Regions from separate parts of the Homo sapiens genome. Here region 2 is linked to region 1. The links are contacts of gene promoters, found by promoter capture Hi-C in human tissues and cell types (Jung and others, 2019). All regions are on one chromosome and are shown on one strand. The core of a region is centred on a gene start or on the middle of the fragment in contact, and the rest is flanking DNA. Distances in the headings are between cores, read along the strand shown.

What was found. The method cuts DNA at HindIII sites, captures the fragments that hold promoters and counts their contacts. A contact is called where the count stands out against the background at its distance.
Region 2: a contact is called between a fragment that was not itself captured here and the fragment with the promoter of GDPD4 in region 1, in 2 of the 25 tissues and cell types used here (neural progenitor cells and thymus).

What each region holds. Positions count from the first base shown.
Region 1 is chr11:77,299,841-77,303,172 of GRCh38, forward strand. GDPD4 (glycerophosphodiester phosphodiesterase domain containing 4) reads right to left here and starts at 1,846. Exons shown (of 17, transcript NM_182833.3): 1 at 1,765-1,846. The HindIII fragment of the contact is 16,410 bases long and covers 1-3,332 here.
Region 2 is chr11:77,225,568-77,228,570 of GRCh38, forward strand. GDPD4 (glycerophosphodiester phosphodiesterase domain containing 4) reads right to left here. Exons shown (of 17, transcript NM_182833.3): 16 at 2,297-2,349. Among named protein-coding and RNA genes, the nearest start is that of GDPD4, 75 kb to the right of the region's middle. The HindIII fragment of the contact is 7,413 bases long and covers 1-3,003 here.

The DNA of each region.
Region 1 (3,332 bases), core at 596-3,095:
TGTAACTAAGGGAAGGGTGAACAGTTGGAGTCAAATAATACAATCTACCTCTCTATATGACAAGCAAAGTAAACTATGAGGCATAAAAGCAATACTAGAGACAAAGAGGGACATTTCATAATGTGAAAAAACAAAAATTTTAATTTGCAATTTGTAAGTACTATTAGATATGAGTTCTAAATTTCTCTTCAAAGAATCAATATGTCAGTATGTTCAATTCTTTGCCTTCTACTTTTAAACTTCCTCGTAAAGCAACCTTTTTTGATCACCTGCTCCATCCTGACTCATTCTGATTACCAGCTCTGCCCTGACTCATCCTGATCACCTGCTCCACCCTCACTCCCGCCAAACCACTCACCCCGTCACTCTCTCTAAATTAGCCAATTGGAATTAGTTTAGCCTGTGCGGTCTAACACTAGCCAATAGGGGAACGACACAGCAGCAGGGGCCACGTGTGTCAGGAATAAGAACCCCTTCCCCTCCCTTGTCCAAGTGTGTGCTCACCATTGCTCCATATGTAAGGGTGCACCCTTCTATAGAAGTATATTGCCTTGCTAAGAATTAAAAAGAAAATTTTATATTTGAGTGCTATTTCTTTTGCGGCACCGAAACTATAACAGTACCCAATCACCTAGTCTCTAAGGGAGAAATGGACAAATGCATAATCATGGTAGGAGATTTAACACACCTCTTAAAAAAAAAACAGAATAAGCAGAAAAAAAGTCTGTAAGGATATAGACGACTGTAAAAGTTGATTAACTAGTCTTAACATTTATAGAACACTGTACTCAACAAATGCAGAGTGTACTTTAAAATGGACATGGAATATTTATCAAAAATCACAATTGGTTTTAATAAACCTTGACATCTTAAGAATATATCTTCTGACTACAGTGCAATTTAACTGGAAATCAGTAAGAAAAACAAATTGCACATTTGGGAATTAAACACACAGAAACCTACGCATGGTCAAAGAAAAATCACAATGGAAATGAGAAAAAAACTTTCAGTTGGTTAATGATGAAACTACTGCATATATATAGAACTTGGTGTGACTAATTGCAAATACTGGGGTGTCCAAGGGCAGACGTTATGAACAAAAAGCTCTATGGGAGGATGGTAAGCTGCTTGGATATCGAATAAAAGGCAGCTTTTTAACCAGAATAATTACCACCACCATTGTCTACACACCTGCAGATACTTTGTGTCTAAGCACCAGCCAGCGTAGCCACGTTTACATGAAAATTCCTAATATTTAAGGGGAGATCGAGAAACACTGTTTCCTTCCCAGAGCTCTTCTCTGAATTCTACACTCATATATCCGACAGGCTACTGAAATCTCCATTTGGATTTCTCACAGGCACCTCAAAAGTAATATGTCCAAAACTGAACCCCTGATGTTTTTTCCCTCTAAAATCGATTCCTCCTGCAATCTGTCCCATCTCAGTAAAGGTCACCGCCATTCCCCAGCTCATGAGATCAAAACCCAAGGGTTGCCGCCCAGGATTGGCATAGTCGAAGCTGATTTTTATCCCCTTCGCCATTAACAACTAGAAAACTAGAAAATACACGAAGCCGCTACTGTCAGATACTGAACAGGAGGTCCAGGCCCGTAATCCTCGAGAGGGGACACAAACGACCCGACAGAGTGAGCGAACAACGTCAAAGGGCCTCAAGTTTGGCCGCCGACTAATAATACTAATAGAACTTCCTGCTTCTGGTGCTGCTTAGGGAGGAAGCACGGAACTGGGCACATTTACTTACCGAGACTTCCCAGTCCCAACCCAAATCCAATCTTCACGCCTGAGGAGACCAGCGTCTCTTAAGATGGACGCCTGGCTGGAAGGGCAGCCCGAGGGAGGCGGGGCGGGAGGGGGCGGCCTGGCGGGGCTGTGGGCGTGGTCAAGGACACCCCGTGCCAGAGCAAGGCTGAAGCTAAGGCCAGACCCCCAGCCTTGGCTCAGAGCCCCACCTTTTAAATGTCCGGTAAGGTATGCTCTCTTTGTTTTTGGTTTGGTTTGGTTCTTACAAAAAGAACTTGACTGTTTAAGTTTAGTCCTTGTTAATAACTTAGTTCAAGCATTACCAATTTTTTGTATCCCAGTTATTCATAAAATTGCCATATATATATATACATCTATCTATATATTTATATATTTTTTAAGAGACGGGGTCTTGTCGCCCAGTCTGGGCCTCAAACTTGGGCTCAAGCAGCCTCCTGCCTCAGCCTGAAGAGTAGCTGGGACTACAGCCCTGTGCCCCCCAGCCACCACGCCCAGGCTACCTCTTTATTTTATTTTATTTTTAACTATTTTTTCTGCCTTTTTAAAACAAATTTTTAATTTTTATGGGTACATAATAAGTGTATTATTTATACAACTCATAGTAGGAATACATGAGATATTCTGATAAAGGTATACAATGTGTAAGAATCACATCAGGAGGCCAGGCACAGTGGCTCACGCCTGTAATCCCAGCAGTTTGGGAGGCCGAGGCAGGTGGATCACCTGAGGTCAGGAGTTCGAGACCAGCCAGGCCAACATGATGAAACCCTGTCTCTACTAAAATACAAAAAAATTAGCCGGGCACAGTGGTGGATTCCTGTAATCCCAGCTACTCAGGAGGCTGAGGCAGGAGAATCACTTGAACCTGGGAGGCAGAGGTTGTAGTGAGCCGAGATAGCACCACTGCACTCCAACCTGGGCAACAAGAGTGAAACTCCATCTAAAAAAAAAAAAGAATCACATCAGGTACACTGAGTATCCATCACCTAAGCATTTATCATTTCTTTGGGTTATGAACGTTCCAGTTACACTCTTAGTTATTTTTAAAAATGTTCAATAAATAATTGCTGACTGTAGTCGCCTTGTTGTGCTGTCAAATATTAGATCCTATTTATTCTAACTATATATCTGTTGTACCCAGTAACCATCCCCACTTTGCCTTACCTTTTTTAAACCAGTTTCAACCACTCAAAGGGCCACAAATGGGCCTGTTTTCGCTTTTGTTTGTTTAATCTTTGATTCCTCTAGCCATTTCTCTGACTCTGACCTCGTTCCTGAGCTCTAGACCTTTATCTCCAACTGCCAGCCACTGGCCTTCAATCTGGCCGTCCTGCTGCAGACACCTCAAACTCAGTAAACCCTAACTTAAATTCATTATCTTTCCCTTCATGTCTGCTCCATCTTCTATGGCTCTAAATCACTAAATGACAAGATGTGAAACAGATGTCTCATCCTCAACTCCTCCTATTCCTTTGCAACCCCCCAACCCTCCACCTTACACAGAGTGACCAAATTCTGCTTATTAGGATACTTCCTATTTCGCCTAGT
Region 2 (3,003 bases), core at 184-2,683, 75 kb before region 1:
AAAGGAATAATCTTAAAATGTAGCCAGAGGAAAAAAGACACGTTACAAACAGAAGAACAGGGGTAAGAAAACTGAAACTTTACATAAGAAACTACATACGACAGAAGACAACAAAATTGACTTAAATTGCTGAAAAATACCCCCTCACACTAGAGAGAGGCCTTCTGGTGGTAGACATGGCATCAGTAGGTGCAGCAGTACGTGCCCATCCTGGAGGTGGCATGGGGCAACACATGGCACTCCGTATTTAGCAAATGAGGCTCCATTCTCCTCAACTTTAATGGATCTGGGCTGTGGTTATGGCTGAGGTCCTGACTTCTGTCTAGTCTTCCTTGTTCCTTCCCTGATTCTAAACTTGGTCCTGCACCTTCTAGATATCTCTTTGAGGTACCCAAATAGCTTTCCAATGCCTTTTCTTTCTGCTTAGATCAAGAAAAACTGGTTTCTCTAATAGGCAACCTAAGAGCTCTTAAAAACAGAAAATCCTTCATTTATTTTCTACTCACCTTTTCTCATCACCATTTTAGCATAGTAGTGGGTAGGGTCAAGTTAACTGTTACTTTTTCTAAGCCACCTCTTTTATCTAGGTTTATATAGTTCTTCAATTTTACTTTCAAAACTTCTTTCCCAGCCATGTTTCCTCCTCATCTCCATGTTCTATCACTGCTTGGCTGGATTATTGTTATGGGCTGAATTATGTCCCCCCAACTCCAATTTCATATGTCAGAGTCCTAACCCTCAGTGTGACTGTATTTGGAGACAGGGCACTTCAGGAGTAATTAAGGTTAAATGAAGCCATAAGGGTGGGGCCCTAATCCAACAGGACTGGTGCCCTTATGAGAAGAGGAAGAGAGACCCGAGATCCCACTCTCCCAAGCACACACACAGAAAAGGCCATGTGAACACACAGTGAGAAGGCAGCTGCATTCAAGCTAAGAAGACAGTGCTCACTAGGGCTCCTCACCAAATTTGCCAGCACCTTGATCTGGGATTTCTAGCCTCCAGAACTGTGAGAAAATAAATTTCTGTTGTTCAAGCCACCCAGTCTATGGTATTTTGTTATGGCAGCCCTAGCTTACTAAGGAACAACTACTGATATAATCATAAACTAGCTGCAATCGTCAGTTAGCTTCAGACTTTGTAACGTAGCCAGTAGAGTGATCTTAAATTCCATGTAATTTGTAACTCAAGTAACCATGTAACTTGAGGTCGCCCTGCCTCAGACCTGGGTAAACTTGGCTTAAACCTCCAGTTTCACAGCATATGAAAGACCATTGCCTTCTATTTAATTTATTCAAATTTCTAAACTTAGTTTTTCATGATCCCTGTGGATTCATTCCTGCAACCCTAAGTGTTGTATCAGTTCCACTCATCTGCCAGCTGGTACATGGAATATCAGGAGCTTCACCATTGTCCATAAGAAATTAAATTAAATTCATGATTTTGTGACTGTTCCAACTTTAATTAAGTCTCCAGGAGTTGCGGAAGGAAATTATATCCCACACCGCGCAGTCTTCTGCCTCCTAATTGGTTTCCCTTTGACACTGCATTGGCTTCCAAAACTTACTGTGTGATCATCCTCACAACCCTCAAAGAAACTCTAGCATCCCTTCCCCTTACTAAGCCTAATTCACTTCCTCAGCCCTTTACACAGAAATCTAACCATGTCGCTTCCTTGTGTGAATGAAAGCGATAATGCCATCTCCTAACTGCCAATATGCAGTGACTTGACTCTGGTTTAGCAATTCCAGGACCGCTGAAGTTTTCTTCCTCTAGCCTCCAACATATATCACCCACAAATGATACCCATAAAGCACCTTCCCCCTAATGGGCATGGCAGCTACTCTGTCCTGGACCTAGATGCCTGGCCCAGTGATGTCAATGCTATACTTTTGCCTTCTTCCTCACTGCTCTTTAAGGACCAGCCCCTCCCCTCTCTCAGGCCACCCTCCAGAGACATCTTTCGGTTATCTTCAGCCCCTCTCTAAGTGCCTTGCACAAAGTGTGGACTCAGTGGCTGTATGATACATGAATATATGAAGAAGTAAACACCCATGCTTGAAATCTTCCAAGGGGCCTCACTGCTTAGAGGATGAAATCTAAAATCTGAAGCCTGATGTACAGAGTCCTCCAGAATCTATGCCCAGCCTATACTTCCCCTGGTCCCTCCCCCAACCCCACCCCCAACTTTCCAGACACCCTCAGCTCTTGTCAGGGACATGAAAAGCTGCCTCTGTCTCCTGGAAGCAATGGGTAGGGATGAAGAGACAGGAGTGGGCTAGGCCTCTGACTTTACCTGTGCGAGTGCTGGAGGTTTCAAACAATTTTTCTTTTTCAGTCTCTCTCCGCCTAGAAGGAAGCAGACCATCCATGAAATGAAGGGGTCTAAAGAATCATGGTCTCTTCTAACGTTCCTCCTCCAGGATCTTCTTCCCCCTTCCATCTTGAAACTTACAATCCTATAGCATTTGCCTGCAAGGATTCCCAAATGTCATTTTCTTCTACAGATAAAAAGATTATGGGCGAGGCACGGTGGCTCACACCTGTAATGCCAGCACTTTGGGAGGCTGAGGCAGGCGGATCACCTGAGGCGGGGCCAACATGGTGAAACCCCATCTCTACTAAAAATACAAAAATTAGCCAGGCATGGGCCAGGCAGGGTGGCTCACCCCTGTAATCCCGGCACTTTGGGAGGCCGAGGCGGGCAGATCACAAGGTCAGGAGTTCAAGACCAGCCTGACCAATATGGTGAAACCCCACCTCTACTAAAAATATTTTTAAAAAAAATTAGCTGGGCATGGTGGTGCCTGTAGTTCCAGCTACTCGGGAGGCTGAGGCAGGAGAATCGCTTGAACCCAGGAGGCGGAGGTTGCAGTGAGCCGAGATCGTGACACTATACTCCAGCCTGGGTGACAGAGCAAGACTCCGTCTCAAAAAAAAAAAAAAAAAAAAAAAAAAAAATTAGCCAGGCACAGTGGCAGGCACCTGTAATCCCAGCTACTC